7 separate regions of the Homo sapiens genome follow, and all the other regions are linked to region 3. The links are contacts of gene promoters, found by promoter capture Hi-C in blood cells and fetal thymus (Javierre and others, 2016). All regions are on one chromosome and are shown on one strand. The core of a region is centred on a gene start or on the middle of the fragment in contact, and the rest is flanking DNA. Distances in the headings are between cores, read along the strand shown. Region 1 has its middle 7.0 kb from the start of SLC25A2. Region 2 holds the start of PCDHB15 (protocadherin beta 15). Region 3 holds the start of PCDHA2 (protocadherin alpha 2). Region 4 overlaps LOC105378199 (a long non-coding RNA gene). Region 5 has its middle 2.5 kb from the start of PCDHB12. Region 6 has its middle 6.2 kb from the start of PCDHB5. Region 7 holds the start of PCDHB6 (protocadherin beta 6).

Region 1 (2,700 bases), core at 4-2,503, 500 kb after region 3:
CTGGGTGAACTCATTTTTTAAAAAAGAACCATAAACAGCTAAGCAACACCCTGAAAAATATTCATCCTCAATAGTAGTTAAAAAATGCAAAACTAGAAAAAATTAATTTAAAAGAATGAAAGTGAAATAAAGACAATCTAAAACAAAAATGAAGAGTCTTTGTCACTAGTAGACCCACATTAAAGGAAATTCTAAAGAATTTATTTTGGGTATAAGGCAAAGGATCATAGATGGAAACCCAGAGATAATATAAAAGCCAACACGTACACAGTTTACCAGACACCAGGCACCGCATTAACTAGTCTGCATATATTAACTCATTTAATTCTCACACAGCTCTGTGAGGTAATAATCCTCATTTTACTGTTGAAGAAACCAATACACAGAGTTAGAAAACTTGACTAAGGTCACACACCTAGTACAGGACAGAGCCAGAGATATGACACCAAGTATTGAGGATTTTAAATCTGACACTGGCTAGGTAAGTAAATAAATAAAGCAGGCCATGTATGGACTAATGATGAGAGTCTATCATAATCCAATTCTGTGAATCTGAGGTCCAACAGGATTTGTTTTTAAAAAATTCTATATGTGGGCTGGGTGTGGTGGCTCACGCCTGTAATCCCAGCACTTTGGGAGGCCAAGGCAGGCAGATCACCTGAGATCGGGAGTTTGAGCCTAGCCTGACCAACACGGTGAAACCCCATCTCTACTAAAAATGCAAAAATTAGCCGGGCGTAGTGGTGGGCGCTACTTGGGAGGCTGAGGCAGGAGAATCGCTTGAACCCAGGAGGCGGAGGTTGCAGCGAGCTGAGATCGTGCCATTGCACTCCAGCCTGGGTGACAGAGTGAGACTCCATCTCAAAAATAAAAATAAATAACAATAAAATCCTATATGTGATAGAATATGAAGCACAGAAAATCACCAATGATGTATTCTTGCCAAACATGTTTAACTTCTCCCAGGCCTTTAGATCTTTTCTCCAGCATGGAAAACACAGAACCTAGGAGCCTTCCTGCCCAGCTCTACTGCAGGCACAGAACAGAATCAACCTGGAGAATCACTAGTGCTTGGACATAGAGCTAGGGTCTTATCGACTTGGATCAGCTTTGACTCCAGATGGCAAAGAGAAGAGGGGAGGCAAACAAAGAAACAGAAGCAGAAAGTAGAAAAATAAATCCCAGCTGGGCGCAGTGGCTCACGCCTGTAATCCCAGCACTTTGGGAGGCCAAGGCAGGCTGATCACGCGGTCAAGATATCGAGACCATCCTGGCCAACATGGTGAAACCCCGTCTCTACTAAAAATACAAAAATTAGCTGGGTGTGGTGGTGCGTGGCTGTAGTCCTAGCTACTTGGGAGGCTGAGGCAGGAGAATCACTTGAACCTGGGAGACGTAGGTTGCAGTGAGCCAAGATCGTGCCAATGCACTCCAGCCTGGCAATAAAGTGAGACTCCGTCTGAAAAAATAATAATAATAAATAAATCCCATAATGCATTCACCAGAAGACAGTCATGGTGCCGCAGCAGGCTGCAGACACAAGGGAAGACTAACTAACCTCCTGAGCTGCCTCTGCCTGTCTAAATGAGCATCTGAGTCCAGTACCAAGGAGTTGAAGAAGGCTTTTTTGTGGGCAACGTCGTGGAGAACCTAGATGAGAAACCCTGAGCACCGGCTAGAGGTGAGTCCACTATTTCTCCAAAGTCAGAAAAGCACACTTCTTCTAAATGCACAAAAGATCTGTTTGTAAATCAATGATTAAAGAAGATATGTAGAGAGATGCCCTAGTTCACGTCTGCTGAGAGACCAGGTTGTTGAGAAGGACCCAGTGAAACTTCTTCAGGCTGCAGTAGAAATACTCGCTATATACATAATTATCTGGCTTCCCAGTGGAAGAAATAATAATGCCCTTTCTGGGGACATTATTTTCACATGCAGAATGTGCATGATTGTTAAGAGACATCAATTATCTACAAAGCTACTTACCCACTTGTGATATTTTTTCTTCTCAACATGCAGACTAAAGCCAGCCTGAACTGATTTTGAAAAATCTACTAAGCCTCATGTAAGGAATAGAGCATCACTACTGGTGATGCTACCAACCTTGAAGAGGTTGGGGAAACAGGAAGATAGCAGTCCACCTTTTAAACATCATTAACAAGAAGTCTGTATGTAAGTGCTGGCATTAGGAGGAAGCCAAGAACAGTGTAGACAGTGGAGCTCAGAAAGCAGGCCACAGACCCTGATGATAGTTTTGTTGTAGTCTCAGCAATGCACCAAGATGTAACAGTCTCTCCTTGTCTGAGATAACACCCAGAGTTCTTTGTCCTACCTCCAAGAAGACACAAAGGTGAGGTTGGAGCGAAAGTTTAATAAGCGAAACAAGAAAGTTCTCTGTCAGCAGAGAGGCGGGCCTAAACAGGGTGCCCCGTGTGAGGCTGGGGTCCAGGGTTTTCAGGGGCTGGGAAGAGGAAGGAATGTGCTTAGTCCCTGGGCTGTCTGGAGAACATGTGACTCAGCTTGACCTGACATCAACCAGAAAGGTTTGCCCGGGACCTTGGGTTGGGAACAATCAGGGGCTGAAGTGATGATTCATAGAGCCCAGACTTACAGTCCAAAAAAGAAAGAAAAGTGCCCACCGGAACCCACTAGAGCCCACTGTGCCCCTGCCCACAAAAGGAGAAGAAACTTTTTCCTGGG
Region 2 (2,700 bases), core at 88-2,587, 450 kb after region 3:
CTTATGGGTAGCTAAGTTGTTTTGCCACTTAATGAAATGACATTTTAGGTCATTCTGAGTTATTTCACATTACTATTTAAAGGGCATAGGAAATAGCTACCTTATGAACATGTTGTCTTTGTTTATCCATCTTATATAATGAACTTGAATCCCAGAAGAAGAGGGAATTTCTACAGTAGGAGGAGAACCTATCTGTCAGAATGTTTAAATTAATTGTGATTTATTAATGGATCCATTTAACAAATATTTATTGAGCACGTACCATGTGCCAGGGATTATTTTAGATATTGGGGATGCAGCAGTGAACAAAATGAAGTTCTAACATGTGAGGTTGAAACAGAAAGGAAACAACTAAATAAGTACATCTATACTACGTCAGATAATAAATACGAGAGAGACAAGGCAGGGCTGGGTACAGCAGCTCATGCCTATAACCCCAGCACTTTGGGAGGCTGAGGCAGGAGGATTGCTTGAGCTCGGAAATTTGAGACCAGCCCGGGCAACATAGCAAGACCTCATCTTTACAAATAATTAAAACATTAGCCAGGCATGGTGATGCGCAACTGTGGTCCCAGCTACAGTTGCTGAGGTGGGGGGATTGCTTGAGCCTGGGTAGTCAAGGCTGCAATGAGCAGTGATTGTGCCACTGCACTCCCTCCTGGACAACAGAGCAAGACCCCATCTCAAAAAAAAAAAAAGGAAAAATGAAAAGAAAAAAAAGAAAAAGCAAAGTAAGAGATATAGGAAGTGCCTTCATATGTATTTTTCCACAGTTTAAAATTTTCATAAAATCATAACTCTCTGACTTTATGTAGAAAGGATACCACACTGGAATTAACGTGTAGCTTTTTCTTGATGTAATCCAACCAATGGGAGCACAATTCTGGTACATAGGCTGTCTAGAATTTGAAAGAAATTAAAGAATTCATTTTGTTTTGCTGATAAATTTTTAAGAAATCACGTGGCTTTATGTTATTATTATTACAAGATGACTGATCACTATTATGTCTTCTTTCACTTCTCAATTTCCCTCAGAACACTACACCCAGACTACAGGCTCTGGAGGGTGGGGACCATGTCTGGGTTGTTTACTGATGTATTTCATAATTTGGCACATAGAGACCAATAATACTCCTTTAAATGAAGAAATTAATAATTACCATTGCGTGATATTGTGATTACATCATTTCCTCCCAATTTCCAAACTCCTAATAGAATAGAGAATAGATCAATTGTAGCAATTCGTTTCGAAGCAAAGACAACGCATGGTGGCGCTGCAGGCTAAGGCTTCAAAAAAAGGAAAAGGAAAAAGCCCATGAAATGCTACTAGCTACTTCAGACCTCTTTCAGCCTAAGAGGAAAGCCTGTTAGCAGAGCACGGACCAGTGTCTCCGGAGAATGCTATTCTCCTACATTTCCGAACAGGTTATCAACGCACAGATCGATCACTGCCTCTGTCCCATCGCTCCCTGAAGTAGCTCTGACTCCGGTTCCTTGAAAGGGGCGTGTACAGAAGTAAAGATGGAGCCTGCAGGGGAGCGCTTTCCCGAACAAAGGCAAGTCCTGATTCTCCTTCTTTTACTGGAAGTGACTCTGGCAGGCTGGGAACCCCGTCGCTATTCTGTGATGGAGGAAACAGAGAGAGGTTCTTTTGTAGCCAACCTGGCCAATGACCTAGGGCTGGGAGTGGGGGAGCTAGCCGAGCGGGGAGCCCGGGTAGTTTCTGAGGATAACGAACAAGGCTTGCAGCTTGATCTGCAGACCGGGCAGTTGATATTAAATGAGAAGCTGGACCGGGAGAAGCTGTGTGGCCCTACTGAGCCCTGTATAATGCATTTCCAAGTGTTACTGAAAAAACCTTTGGAAGTATTTCGAGCTGAACTACTAGTGACAGACATAAACGATCATTCTCCTGAGTTTCCTGAAAGAGAAATGACCCTGAAAATCCCAGAAACTAGCTCCCTTGGGACTGTGTTTCCTCTGAAAAAAGCTCGGGACTTGGACGTGGGCAGCAATAATGTTCAAAACTACAATATTTCTCCCAATTCTCATTTCCATGTTTCCACTCGCACCCGAGGGGATGGCAGGAAATACCCAGAGCTGGTGCTGGACACAGAACTGGATCGCGAGGAGCAGGCCGAGCTCAGATTAACCTTGACAGCGGTGGACGGTGGCTCTCCACCCCGATCTGGCACCGTCCAGATCCTCATCTTGGTCTTGGACGCCAATGACAATGCCCCGGAGTTTGTGCAGGCGCTCTACGAGGTGCAGGTCCCAGAGAACAGCCCAGTAGGCTCCCTAGTTGTCAAGGTCTCTGCTAGGGATTTAGACACTGGGACAAATGGAGAGATATCATACTCCCTTTATTACAGCTCTCAGGAGATAGACAAACCTTTTGAGCTAAGCAGCCTTTCAGGAGAAATTCGACTAATTAAAAAACTAGATTTTGAGACAATGTCTTCGTATGATCTAGATATAGAGGCATCTGATGGCGGGGGACTTTCTGGAAAATGCTCTGTCTCTGTTAAGGTGCTGGATGTTAACGATAACTTCCCGGAACTAAGTATTTCATCACTTACCAGCCCTATTCCCGAGAATTCTCCAGAGACAGAAGTGGCCCTGTTTAGGATTAGAGACCGAGACTCTGGGGAAAATGGAAAAATGATTTGCTCAATTCAGGATGATGTTCCTTTTAAGCTA
Region 3 (2,748 bases), core at 247-2,746:
TTTATTTTTGCTTAAATCGGTTAACTTGGGATTTACTGTTAGAGTATGATTAACATAAATACACATTTCCATAGATGGTACAAATGAGTATCTTAAGATACTGTACATGAGGGAAAAAAATTGTTATTGGAAAAAAAGCTAGCTTTTCTTAACAAGAGCTTTGCTTTTCTCTTACGGACATTGCAAATTTTGCAATTAATTTTACTTCTCTCTTTGCTCTAGGAAGCTGAAAACAAAATTGGTGACATGGTTAGAGTAACTGAAGGTGACCCTTTATTATGGATTTTGTATGCTATCCCACTCCTTGATTCATTTTATTTCATCCTCATCTTATCTTTATTCTATTTTCATTTTTTTACTGTGAAGGGATCAGCTAAAAATTAACAAAAGAAGATATTCTCAAGTAATTAACACAAAAAAAGAGATCGATTGTATTGTTCTTGCATAAAAGTCTAAATGTAATGGAAAAGGAATATTCTAAAGTAATAGTACATTATCCAAATGAGAAACAAATAAATTATTAATTTCAAAACATTTGCAAACAATTCAAAAATCAAAATTAAATCACAAAACAACAGTATATATACACATATATTTTCAATGGACTAAAATACCTTTGATTACTATGTTCTTCATTTGAAGAAATAGTGAAAAATGCTAATATATCCAAAAGAATTGAAAGCAGGGTCTCAAAGAAATATATGCACACCCATGTTCATGGCAGCACTGTTCACAACAGTCAAGAAATGGAAGCAACTCAAATGTCCACGAATACTTGAATGAATAAACAAAACGTGGTGTATACATATGTTGGACTATTATTCAGCCTTAAAAAGGAAAGAAGTCCTGTCACATGTTACAATATGGATGAACCTTGAGGAACCATCCACGGATGCTTGAATGAATAAACAAAACGTGGTGTATACATACGATGGACTAGTATTCAGCCTTAAAAAGGAAATAAATCTTGTCACATGCTACAACATGGATGAACCTTGAGGACATTGTGCTAAGTGAAATAGGCCAGTCACAAAAAGACAAATACTTTACGAGTCCACTTACACGAAATATCTAAAGTAGTGAAATTCATAGAAATAGAAAATAGGACTGTGGTTACCAGAGACTGGAGTGACGGTGAAAAGCGGAGTTGTTGTCTAATGGGTATAGAGTTTCTGTTTTCCAAGATGAAAAATTTGTAACAATGTGAATATACTTAACATTACTGAAATGTACATTTAATCATAGTTAATATGGTAATTTTAAATATTATGTTGTGTGTTTTTTAACCAGAGTAAAAAAGGGTAAAAAGGTAATATATTTTAGGGCTTAAAATAGTTATTTTTTTCCAAGATGAAAGCTATGAGTAAACTTAAACCAGAAAATCGACTAGTTTTAAATCTACAGAATAAACAGTAGAGCCTTCCTTTTAGCCACATGATGTCGCTGTCCACCATAGAGTGTTCTCTAGGAAGGAAAATACCCAGAGCCCCTTTGTTACTTCAGAGAAGCGGAGGAATAAGAGAAGCAGCAGGACTTTAACAGAGACTAGAATATTTAAATTTTTGCAAAACATGCTCTTCTAATTTGATCAAAACATTGAGGATTGGTAATGGCGTCTTCTATCAGAAGGGGCCGAGGGGCCTGGACACGGCTGCTCTCGCTTCTGCTCCTCGCAGCCTGGGAGGTGGGGAGCGGCCAGCTCCGCTACTCCGTCCCCGAGGAGGCCAAACACGGCACCTTCGTGGGCCGCATCGCGCAGGACCTGGGGCTGGAGCTGGAGGAGCTGGTGCCGCGCCTGTTCCGGGTGGCGTCCAAAAGACACGGGGACCTTCTGGAGGTAAATCTGCAGAATGGCATTTTGTTTGTGAATTCTCGGATCGACCGGGAGGAGCTGTGCGGGCGGAGCGCGGAATGTAGCATCCACGTGGAGGTGATCGTGGACAGGCCGCTGCAGGTTTTCCATGTGGAAGTGGAGGTGAAGGACATTAACGACAACCCGCCAATATTTCCAATGACAGTAAAGACTATCCGGTTTCCCGAATCAAGGCTGCTTGATTCTCGGTTTCCTCTAGAGGGAGCATCTGATGCAGATATAGGAGTAAATGCTCTTCTCTCCTACAAGCTCAGCTCCAGTGAGTTTTTCTTCCTAGATATACAGGCAAATGATGAACTAAGCGAATCTTTGTCTCTCGTGCTGGGGAAATCGCTGGACAGAGAGGAAACTGCTGAGGTTAATTTGTTACTGGTGGCTACTGATGGGGGCAAACCTGAGCTCACGGGCACCGTTCAAATACTTATTAAGGTATTAGATGTAAATGACAATGAACCAACTTTTGCCCAATCAGTTTACAAAGTAAAATTGTTAGAGAATACGGCAAATGGGACCTTAGTGGTTAAGTTAAACGCTTCTGATGCAGATGAAGGACCGAACAGCGAGATTGTGTATTCACTCGGTAGTGATGTGTCCTCCACTATACAGACTAAGTTTACCATAGATCCCATCTCAGGGGAAATCAGAACTAAGGGAAAATTAGATTATGAAGAAGCAAAGTCCTACGAGATTCAGGTCACTGCAACTGACAAAGGAACCCCTTCAATGTCAGGACATTGTAAAATTTCATTAAAACTTGTGGACATCAATGATAACACACCAGAAGTCTCAATAACGTCTCTCTCACTTCCCATCTCAGAGAACGCTTCCCTGGGCACTGTCATTGCTCTCATCACGGTGTCGGATCGCGACTCTGG
Region 4 (2,700 bases), core at 201-2,700, 470 kb after region 3:
CTCTACTAAAAATACAAAAATTAGCTGGGCATGATGGCGGGCACCTGTAATCCCAGTTACTCAGGAGGCTGAGGCAGAAGAATTGGTTGAATTCAGGAGGCGGAGGTTGCAGTGAGCTGAGATCGTGCCATTGCATTCCAGCCTGGACGACAGTGCGAGACTCCATCTCAAAATAAATAAATACATACAAATGTATGAAAATCTATGGACTCTCCCAAAGAAAAGACTCTGCAGATGACTTTTCTAGTGTCATCTAATAAATCCACTCTAATATGTTTGACGCTTCTGACCCCTTCAGTACTCTCCAAGGTAGTTCTGGTAACTCCAACTCGTTTATTGTAGTCCATCATTATGCCCAAGCTTCAAGAGGCCAACCCAGCAATGTATTAGTTCTTATCATAGGTGTCATTGCCAGGAGGCAATTCTGAAGTACAAATCTGAAGTCAAGAGAGAGTACCTTTGTACCCTAAACACTCCTCTATCCAGCAGCATATTACACACACACACACACACATTTATGTTCAATATTAATTTCCAAGCATAATCCCCATGTTTCTGCTGGTACATATTAGCCATGCCTTGTAGTTTCTTTAGTGAATATAATTTTTTTAAATTTTCTTTTCTTTTCTTTTTTTTGACGGAGTCTCGCTCTCTCACCAGGCTGGAGTGCAGTGGCACGATCTGAGCTCACTGCAACCTCCACCTCTCGGGTTCAAGCAATTCTCCTGCCTCAGCCTCCTGAGTAGCTGGGACTGCAGGTGCATGCCACCATGCTCAGCTAATTTTTTTGTATTTTTAGTAGAGACAGGGTTTCACCATGTTGGCCAGGATGGTCTCGATCTCCAGACCTTGTGAGCTGCCTGCCTCGGCTTCCCAAAGTGATGGGATTACAGGCATAAGCCACTGTGCCTGGCCTAAATTTTATTTTCTAATGAATAGGATTTATTTTTCTCATGAGCAGGAATTGTACTTTCCAGCTCACGTCATTATTTAACCTTAGTTATAGATATAAAAGCAGTGGGGACAGGTCTTGAATAGGGTAAGTTTCATCTTGTAAGGCATTAATATCAGATGAAGGCATTACATTATCTCCAAGCAATGAAAGGCTTTATTTCCCTAGAAAGGAGGAGGATCCATGGCTAGAAAGAGTTCAAGGGAATCTGAGAATATAAGTATCTCAAGTACATCCAACCAAATGTCCTCATCCCAGGACTCAGAGTATGTGGAATATTTCTTTCCTATCAGGATTCTAACTTTAACAAAGAAAACTTAGATCGTTGTGTTTTCAGTCTGCTTTGTAGCTCTGGCACTAATACATTCAAATACTGAGCCTGATTTTCAGTACATCTAGCCCTCCAGCTGTAGAAAAGAGATGTCTTTTAAAATTTTTCCATGGAAAGCCTTTGGCTTTCACAGTGTTCTCTAAATTGATAGGTGGATAATTTGAGCTAATCATGCTATATATTCAGGGCTTATGGTCAGTAGAAAAAAGAAGCAAACTTCACAATCCTTTCAATTACAATTTTTTCCATTTGTGTCATGTGCAGAAGCTATTGCATAAGCCAGTAGTTATACCTGTTGCTCATTTCAATCCTCCACAGGTGAGAATCTTAGTAAGTGGGATGCTACAGCATGACAGGGATTATCACAACCCCACTTTCTACCAGAATTGGATTGCTGCCATGTGACCAGCAAGTAATTCAAGTTCAGAATCCCATCCTTAGAATTTGCTTTCTAAGTTGCTATCTTTGTTGAGTTCTCCCAAAAGCAGACCTAGAGACAAGGACTTAGGTGCAATTAATTTATTTAAAAAGTTATCTAGAGAAGCACCAGTGAGGAAGTGTGGAAACTGAGAAAAAGAAGGGAGAAACATCAATAAATTAAAAATTATTATTTTAATAAGCAGATTACCATTGTGAATACATGGGCCTCAATCTTGCTAGGGAACTCTATGAGGAACTGTGTGGAACATACTGTAGAATTGTCCCATCAAAGAACCAGAAAGTTAGTGGTAGACTGATCTCACCTTCCATCTTTCATTGAGTGTTAACCCTAAGGGCATTAAATTTCTGGAAATTCCAGATTGCAATGTGAATGGGCAGAGCAAGCTCCTATGGCATCAGAGAAATCCCTCCCAGGAAGAGAAGTAGAAAGACAAAAGTGCTTGACATGATGTATTAGTCAATTTTCACACTGTTGATAAAGACATACCTGAAACTAGGGAGCAAAAGAGGTTTAATTGGACTTACAGTTCCACATGGCTAGGGAGGCCTCAGAATCATGGCAGTAGGTGAAATGCACTTCCTACATGGCAGCGGCAAGAGAAAATGAGAGAGATGCAAAAGTGGAAATCCCTGATAAAACCATCAGATCTCATGAGACTTATTCACTACGACCAGAACAGTAGGAGGGAAACTGCCCTCATGATTCAATTATCTCCCACCAGGTCCCTCCCACAACACGTGGGAATTATGGGAGTACAATTCAAGATGAGATTTGAGTGGGGACACAGCCAAACCATATCACAAGAGAAGCTGCTGTAAGCTTGCTAAAAAGTTTTCATTGAACTGCAGGTAAACTCTGAGGTGGGCCAAGGGAATATAGGACAGGCATCAATAGCATCTGCTATACTGCTGCATTTGGTTGTACAAGCAAAGGGTTGAGAAGTAGCTGTGGAAGGAAGGTTCAGCATTCCAGTGT
Region 5 (2,700 bases), core at 165-2,664, 410 kb after region 3:
TTAGTGTAGTGTGATTAAATTTCCTTTCTTGAGAAACATTTTTCCTAGAACTGAAAATTGTTTTGTACTTACATAATTTTCCATTTACTAATATTAGTTTCTTTACATTCTCTAATTTGAATCTCTTTCTTCTCAAAATATTCAAATATATCAGATACCTGTCAATTATGTTTATTTCTTGGTGATCTTGCACCCAGATCTCTACTTCATTCATACTGGTTGCTCTATAGGCTGTCACCCTAGGACTTTAAAAAATATTTTTCTTTGTTGGTCCTTTTTTATAAGATCCAGTACATTCTTCTTTCTTAGTTTACTCACTTATTTTGTTGATGCACATCTCTCAGTACCTTCATAAAAATGGATACAGAGGAAATAAAACTTTTTGAGAGCTTGCTTTGTTATTTTCTTTTTTTTTATTTGATTGATAGTTTGGGCATAACATTCTAGGTTGAAAATAATTTTCCCTCAGATTTCAAAAGCACTGCTCCTTTTATTGACTGCATATAGAATTGCTGTTCAGAAGACTGATTCCATTCTGATTCCTATGTCTTTTTATGTGATTCCCCCCCTTTTTTTCTTTCTTTCTGTGAGCATTGAAAAAAATTCCCCTGGTCTTCTGAAAATACCTTAGTACTGGCTCTTTATTGATTAATCTGGTTATATCGCTATGCCCTGTTCATGTTTAACTTTTCTTTTTTTTTTAAGATGATGTCTCACTGTGTTACCCAGGCTGGAGTGCAGTGGCTATTCACAGGCACAATCACAGCACCCTGCAAGCTCTAACTCGAGAGCTACTTCTGCCTCAGCCTTCCAAGTTGCTGGGACTACAGGCATGTGCTAGACCCCTTGGCTAATGTTCAGACTATCAATTTTATTTCTGAGAAATTTTGGTTGGGCATGGTGACTCACACCTGCAATCCCAGTACTTTGGGAAGCTGAGGCAGGATTATTTGAGGCCCCGAGTTTGAGACCACCCTGGGCAACATAGTGGGAACCTATCTCTACACAAAAACAATTTGTTAAAAGGAATTTCCTTGGTATGTTTTACTCATAATTTCTCCTCTGAGTTTTCTGGATTCTCACTTCAATGAAAATCTCAGTTAAATATTAGACCTCCTAGATTGACTCTATAAGACTATAAGCCATTTTTCCTTTCTTATTTTCTCTTTGCCTCTCATTCCATTTTTTGGACAATTTATTTAATCACTCAATGTTTTATGTATAAGTTTTTCTTTATGACTGAAAAATATTTACTTTTAAGAGTTGTTTTTGGTTCTCTGAATGTTTTTCATGGCATCCTGTCATAGATTTATAAATGTAATATTTTCTCTCATTTATAATTAATCTTTTCTTTAAAAATGCATTAGGCAGTATCATTATTATATATCCATTTTAAAAGTGAAAGTGAGTCTAAGGGGAGTTAAGAACTTGTCCAAGGTAATATAGCTAGTAAAAAGCACTGAAGTCCTAATCTAGTCTTCATCTTACAATAGGAATATGTACTTCATATAGTTACTATTTAGATTAAGTGGATAAATACATACTTCATACAGCTACTATTTAGATTAAATGGATAAATGCATTATGAGGCACTTAGAACAATGAGTAGCATAGAGTAAATACTAAATAAGTATTAGCTTTTATTAGATTTTCTTTCTCTGGGAATATTAACCAGACATTTTCAAAGGCTTTCTTCTGCTTTCTATATTATTGTTCCTTTTTTTTTTCTTGATGGTAGCGATGGTGGTAGTTTTGGTCTTTCTATGTTATGTTGCAGGCATTTCCTCAAATGCCTTGGCTATCTTCTCGTATTTTAGAAGGATGATATATCAAAATGCTGACAATCAACTCTGTGAGCGAACAGTACCTGTTGATGGCAGGGCTTCATTCTAATATAACCATGCTAGGATAAGTCTATTACCTTATGAGATGCCAAATATTAATATGTGTCTTCATTTGGGCTTTCATATTCTCCAGGTTAGAATTCTACAATATACACTATGGGGATAGACTAGGGGTCAGGCATACACTTTGTGTCCTACAGTCTAAGAGTATTGCATGAAAAGGGATTAGAAGTCTCACCATGCAAAATGCAAAGGTTTGCTTACTCTCCCTATTTTCAGTTTGACACCTCACACTTGTGCTCAGCTGTGCCTAGATCCCCAAGACTAGAGAAAGTCCCATTAAATTTCTCCAGAGAATAAACTTTCTATTTTCTGGCTGTGAGTTATGTTTCCATCTATGTAGGGTGATGAGAAGAACAGAGAATTCAATTATCCTCTACACATACTTCCAACTAATAACTTTTTTCCATCCTTAACTGACTTCAGTCTTCTTAAACATCTGGTTCCTCCAGATCTTGCGCTTAAAAGAGATTATGTTTCTTGTGAGTATCTTCAATGCAGGAACTTTACTTTAGGGGCACTTTTTGGAACTGCTAAGTTAATTGCTCTTCCACCTGCTTTCTGTCATAGAAAAATGTATGTGTTCACTTGTGTATTCTTAATCTTTGTTAGTTCCTACCATTTTAATTACTTTTCTGCCATTTTAGTGCATATTTTTTTTTAAAAAGAGAGGTTAATTGTGTGTGCTCAATTCATCTACTTTTCAAGTTTTACCCTTCTGTACCAATTACTATTTCAACCATGTATCCAGCTTACATTTTTAAGAATATTAATTGAATTTAACATTTTAAAATGC
Region 6 (2,757 bases), core at 224-2,723, 330 kb after region 3:
AAAATCCTAACTGGAAAATTTCTGAAAAGGAAAGTGAAGTTTTAATAGTCTTGCTATTGAAACATTAGAGTTTAGGATCTGCCATGGGAAGGGGCTGTGGAGAATATACCAAGTTCTCAGCTGAAAATTCTGGAGAGCCAGGTGCTTATCAGGACTGCAAAGAACCTTGACAAAGCCCAGTGCCTGTTTCAGTTGAGATGATTTGTTTAGACAGAACTCTATCAAGTTAACAGTGGAAAAGGTGAACTCTTGTTGGAGGAAGATAATATCTTAACCTTGGATAGCTTTTTATGTAAATATTCAACATTCAATAAAAAATTCCTAAGTACACACACCAAAAACTGGATACATGAATAAAACCGAGAGAAAAAAAAGACAATAAAAATTACCCATAAATGATTCAGATATTAAAATTAACTGAATGATATTAAAATAAGTAAGACTAATATGTTAAAAATAAAGAACAATAGAGAAAATAAGGAGATAATTTCACTGGAGAATTGAACTTTAAAAGTGAAAGTTAATTCTAGAACTGAAAAATTATATTATCTGAAATTAAAACTATTTAAATGGTTTAATGTCATAGTCATAAAATGATACAGGATTAGTGGATGCAAGACAATTCAATATTAACATCCAAATATAAGCACAGAGAATAAAATAATAAAATATACAGAAAAGAACATTAGTGATGTGTGGAATGTAATTTTTAAAAACTCTAACATACTGAAAGAGAGAACAAGCATGAGGCAATATTTGAAGAGATAATGATAAAGAATTTTCCAAAACTGGTGAAAATCCTTAATCCTTCAAGATATTCAAGAAATAAATAATAACAGGCTAAATAAAAACAAAGCCTAATTAGGCATATCATAGGAAAGCATCTCAAGACCAAAGTCAAAGAGATAATTTAAGAACCAACCATGTAAGAAATAAAACATTCCTGTTAAAGGAGCATCAGTAAAATGGAGAGCTGACTTTTCAACATAAATCAGGAAATCAAAAGACAAAGGAATGACATCTTTAAAGTCCTGAAAGAAAATTACTACCAGGTTAGAATTCTATTGCCAGCAAACATATCCTTCAAAAATGAATGCAGTTTTCAGACAAAAATGAAGGGAATTAACGACAGTCACATCTGCACTAAAAGAAATACTTTTTTTTTTTTTTTCGAGACAGAGTCTCACTCTGTTGTCTAGGCTGGAGTGCAGTGGCACAATCTCGGCTCACTGCAATCTCCACCTCCTGGGTCCAAGCTATTCTCCCCATCTCAGCCTCCTGAGTAGAGGGGATTACAGACATGTGCCGCCACGCCTGGCTAATTTTTGTATTTTTAGTAGAGACAGGGTTTCACCATGTTAGCCAGGCTGGTCTCGAACTCCTGACCTCAAGGGATCCACCCGCCTTGGCCTCTGAAGGTGTTGGGATTACAGGCATGAGCTACTGCATCTGGCCAAGAAATGCTTTTAATGAAATGCATTAGGCAGAAGGAAAACAATCCAAAAGAAATCACAGAATTGCAGGAATAAATGAAGAGCAATAAGAAAGGTCAATGTACATGAATGTTGATTGAATATTGATTATACAAGGCAATAATATTAATACTAGTTTCTTAAAGGATTTAAATTATATGTAAAATTTAAATTTATAACAACAATAATGTAAAAGGCAAAGGTATAAATAGAGTTAAAAAGTGTTAAGGCTGTAAGCATTATCATGGAAGTAGTAAAATTACTAACGTGTGTTAGATTCTTGTATATTGAAGATGCATGCTGTAATTTATTGGATAATCCTCAAAGTAATAAAACACTAATTGAAGGAAGAAAAATTAAAAATATCTGAATAATCAAAAAGAAAAATTAAACTTTAGTGACAAATAGAAAAGTAATTAGATGGTAAGCATAAATGGAAATATATCAGATATTGTATTAATTTTATTTGGATTAAATAATCCAATTAAACAACAAAAATTGTCAGACTAGATTAAAGAAAAACTCAACTCTATGCTATCAAATTGTGTGTGTGTGAACACAGAAAGAGTGAAGGTTTAAAAGAATTGGATAAGGTATATAGTAATATAAACACTAGCCAAAATAAATCTAGGTAGCTGTATTTACATAAGACAAAAGAGACTTTAAGGAAAGATACATTACTAGAGATAAAGAGAAGTTTTTTTATAATCATAAAGAAGTAAATATACCAGAAATATGTTAGTTTTAAGACTGAATACATCCCAATTAGATAACTACAAAATATATAAAGTTGATAGAATACAAATACAAAGTAGACAAACCCAATTACACAGGGAGATTGAATACAACTCTCTCAATTCCTGTTAGAATAAGAAGAAAAAACACACACATACAAAAAATGTTGAAGATCCGAACCACACGAACATCATATTCAAATAAATTGACATGCATAGCACACTGGAGCATACACATTCTTCTTATATGCATGTGGGATATATAAAAATTGTTCATGTTCTTTGTCATGAATGAAGTCTCAAATATTTAAAAAAGAATTGAGGCCAGGCACAGTGGCTAACACCTGTAATCCCAGCAGTTCAGGAGGCAGAGACGGGCAGATCACAAGGTCAGGAGTTCGAGACCAGCCTGGCCAATATGGTGAAACCCCGTCTCTACTAAAAATACAAAAATTAGCAGGGTATGGTGGCAGGCACCTGTAATCCCAGCTACTCGGGAGGCTGAGGCAGGAAAATTGCTTGAAACCGTCAGGTGGAGGTTTCAGTGAGCT
Region 7 (2,700 bases), core at 200-2,699, 360 kb after region 3:
GATGACACCAGTCCAATATGTTTATTATTGTTGGTTTATTTCATAATTTCATTTTGTTACATTCTCAAGGAACAGTGTGTTCCCAGTAGCATCTATCAAGTGAACCCTGGAGGCTGGTCACATTCATAATCTTTTGTTTTTCTGGCTACATAGAGGTGATTTTGAACTACAAGATCATCTCAGCTATTCAGAGTTTAGATTTTATTTAGCCTTATTTGTTTTGCCTAGCATTTATGTATTTGAAAATATCTTGATTTTTAATCTTCTATCACCTTGGCCCTTACCTGAAGTGAACTTTGTTTGAACTCAATTGATTTCACCTCTCAATAAATATGAAATTAATCTGAAATGAATTGAATTGTTTGGCATATTTTACCTCTTCTATGTGCACTAATCTATTTCACACATTTTCAGTTTGTTTAGAGATACATGTTCCAATGTATCTGAGTAGAAACTAGTGAGATGGGAATGGATATAGCCATAATATTCCATCATTGAATTCCATGGCATTCACTCAAATGTAACTCACCTGTTTTAACAGTACCTTAATTTGGCCTGTATTTATTGGACTTGGTGTTCTTTTTGCTGTGAGAAGACGGTGAAGGTGATTCTTGAATGTTTGTTTTCTGTGTTGCATCATGTTTGTACAACACGGTAATATATTTGGACCTTGATTAAATAATGTAAGAGGGGAATTTGATCAAAAAATAAAATGCACAAGACTGTTAAAACAATGTCTAATTCTATCCATGCAAAAATGGAGTAGAATCCTAAAATGCTTATGACAACTACTTGATTGCTTCTAGTCCCTCTTTTAAATACTTTAATTTACTTAGATACATGTATCATACGTACTTCTTGGCCTCAGTTTTCCTCCTAATAGCCTAATTGTTCTTTTTACTGTGCAGGCATAACTATATAACAAAGTAGGTTTTTTTTTTCATGCCATTTATGAGTCATATAATTTAGATAATTTATTGTTTATTTTACCATTATTGTTGCTAACAAACTTCGTTGTTTTGCATTGTTTGTTGGGACAATTAAATAGTGTACCTCTTGGACTAATAGATTAAATAGTTCATCAGAGATAAATTGCACTGCTGAAGCATCAAAGGAGAAAGACTGAAGTGTAGAATCTGCACTTCAATCTTTCTCCTTAATTAGCACCACCAGGGAATTTGATTCAAGTTCTAGAGGGGAGTGAACCCAGGAATTGGCTTAAAAACAAAAACATACACACAAAAAAACCAACGCTCGCAAGCAATTATTTATGCATGCGGTCCACGCACTCAGTTTGAGAAACACTGACTCGACTTAAAAGTCTTTATAATGCTCAGATTTCTGAAATGCTATTGACCTGAAAACATCTCATGAAGTTATTAGTTTGAACGCGTGGTGGCGGTACAAGCTAAGAGAGTGAATGAAAGCTCTGCAGACTCGGTGGACTCCGTTTCATCCAGAAGCCAAGTAAAAATACAGACCACGTTTACAGCTAAAGCTGAGATAGATGTGTCCGGGAAGGCAGTCGTCGCCAGACAAGTTGTAAGAACGAATTTAAAAATCTCTGCAAAGACATCCGAGAGGGTCGACGGTAGATGTGGTGATTGGGAGCTGAAAAGGATTTTTCTTCCGTATTCAGACATAATAGACATGATGCAAACTAAAGTACAGAACAAGAAAAGGCAAGTGGCTTTCTTCATTTTATTGATGCTTTGGGGAGAGGTGGGTTCTGAATCGATTCAGTATTCCGTATTGGAGGAGACAGAAAGTGGCACGTTTGTGGCCAACTTGACAAAGGACCTGGGACTGAGGGTGGGGGAGCTGGCTTCGCGGGGCGCTCGGGTTGTTTTCAAAGGGAACAGACAACATTTGCAGTTTGATCCACAGACCCATGATTTACTGCTAAATGAAAAACTGGACCGGGAGGAGCTGTGTGGCTCCACTGAGCCGTGTGTGCTACCTTTCCAAGTGTTACTGGAAAACCCCTTGCAGTTTTTTCAGGCTTCCTTGCGAGTCAGAGATATAAATGACCACGCCCCGGAATTCCCTGCCAGAGAAATGCTCCTGAAAATATCAGAAATTACTATGCCAGGAAAGATATTTCCTTTGAAAATGGCACACGATTTAGACACCGGCAGCAACGGCCTTCAGAGGTACACAATCAGCTCCAACCCTCACTTCCACGTTCTCACCCGCAATCGCAGCGAAGGCAGGAAGTTCCCGGAGCTGGTGCTAGACAAACCGTTGGACCGCGAGGAGCAGCCCCAACTCAGGCTAACGCTGATCGCGCTGGATGGCGGGTCTCCGCCCCGGTCAGGGACCTCCGAGATTCAGATCCAGGTTTTGGACATCAATGACAACGTCCCCGAGTTTGCTCAGGAGCTCTATGAAGCACAAGTCCCTGAGAACAACCCCCTCGGCTCTCTGGTTATTACCGTCTCAGCCAGAGATTTAGATGCAGGATCGTTTGGGAAGGTATCTTACGCCCTGTTTCAAGTCGATGACGTCAACCAACCCTTCGAAATAAACGCAATCACAGGAGAAATTCGGCTGAGAAAGGCTTTGGATTTTGAGGAAATTCAGTCTTATGACGTGGATGTTGAGGCTACAGATGGTGGAGGCCTATCAGGAAAATGCTCTTTAGTCGTCAGGGTCCTGGACGTGAATGACAATGCCCCTGAACTCACCATGTCGTTCTTC

What was found. Contacts are between HindIII fragments. The CHiCAGO score rates a contact against its expected background, and 5 or more counts as called.
Region 1: a fragment that was not itself captured here is called in contact with the fragment with the promoter of PCDHA2 in region 3 in 5 of 17 cell types (erythroblasts, M2 macrophages, megakaryocytes and 2 more); the score reaches 10.4 in erythroblasts.
Region 2: the fragment with the promoter of PCDHB15 here is called in contact with the fragment with the promoter of PCDHA2 in region 3 in 13 of 17 cell types (M2 macrophages, M1 macrophages, M0 macrophages and 10 more); the score reaches 18.6 in M2 macrophages.
Region 4: a fragment that was not itself captured here is called in contact with the fragment with the promoter of PCDHA2 in region 3 in 5 of 17 cell types (M1 macrophages, endothelial precursors, erythroblasts and 2 more); the score reaches 7.2 in M1 macrophages.
Region 5: a fragment that was not itself captured here is called in contact with the fragment with the promoter of PCDHA2 in region 3 in 7 of 17 cell types (M1 macrophages, erythroblasts, M2 macrophages and 4 more); the score reaches 10.3 in M1 macrophages.
Region 6: a fragment that was not itself captured here is called in contact with the fragment with the promoter of PCDHA2 in region 3 in 4 of 17 cell types (erythroblasts, neutrophils, M1 macrophages and 1 more); the score reaches 6.1 in erythroblasts.
Region 7: the fragment with the promoter of PCDHB6 here is called in contact with the fragment with the promoter of PCDHA2 in region 3 in 13 of 17 cell types (M1 macrophages, M2 macrophages, M0 macrophages and 10 more); the score reaches 23.7 in M1 macrophages.

Annotation. Positions count from the first base shown.
Region 1 is chr5:141,295,711-141,298,410 of GRCh38, forward strand. No RefSeq gene overlaps it. Among named protein-coding and RNA genes, the nearest start is that of SLC25A2, 7.0 kb to the right of the region's middle. The HindIII fragment of the contact is 7,402 bases long and covers 1-2,700 here.
Region 2 is chr5:141,244,058-141,246,757 of GRCh38, forward strand. PCDHB15 (protocadherin beta 15) reads left to right here and starts at 1,338. Exons shown (of 1, transcript NM_018935.4): 1 at 1,338-2,700. The coding sequence starts at 1,522. It also overlaps PCDHB@ and the pseudogene PCDHB19P. The HindIII fragment of the contact is 5,789 bases long and covers 1-2,700 here.
Region 3 is chr5:140,793,356-140,796,103 of GRCh38, forward strand. It overlaps PCDHA2 (protocadherin alpha 2), which reads left to right and starts at 1,497. Exons shown (of 4, transcript NM_018905.3): 1 at 1,497-2,748. The coding sequence starts at 1,610. The region is part of intron 1 of PCDHA1 (protocadherin alpha 1); the gene reads left to right. It also overlaps PCDHA@. The HindIII fragment of the contact is 8,329 bases long and covers 1-2,748 here.
Region 4 is chr5:141,263,769-141,266,468 of GRCh38, forward strand. The region is part of intron 1 of LOC105378199 (a long non-coding RNA gene); the gene reads right to left. Among named protein-coding and RNA genes, the nearest start is that of PCDHB15, 20 kb to the left of the region's middle. The HindIII fragment of the contact is 2,184 bases long and covers 359-2,542 here.
Region 5 is chr5:141,204,854-141,207,553 of GRCh38, forward strand. It overlaps PCDHB@. Among named protein-coding and RNA genes, the nearest start is that of PCDHB12, 2.5 kb to the right of the region's middle. The HindIII fragment of the contact is 2,869 bases long and covers 1-2,700 here.
Region 6 is chr5:141,127,622-141,130,378 of GRCh38, forward strand. It overlaps PCDHB@. Among named protein-coding and RNA genes, the nearest start is that of PCDHB5, 6.2 kb to the right of the region's middle. The HindIII fragment of the contact is 3,190 bases long and covers 1-2,757 here.
Region 7 is chr5:141,148,608-141,151,307 of GRCh38, forward strand. PCDHB6 (protocadherin beta 6) reads left to right here and starts at 1,450. Exons shown (of 1, transcript NM_018939.4): 1 at 1,450-2,700. The coding sequence starts at 1,651. It also overlaps PCDHB@. The HindIII fragment of the contact is 6,099 bases long and covers 1-2,700 here.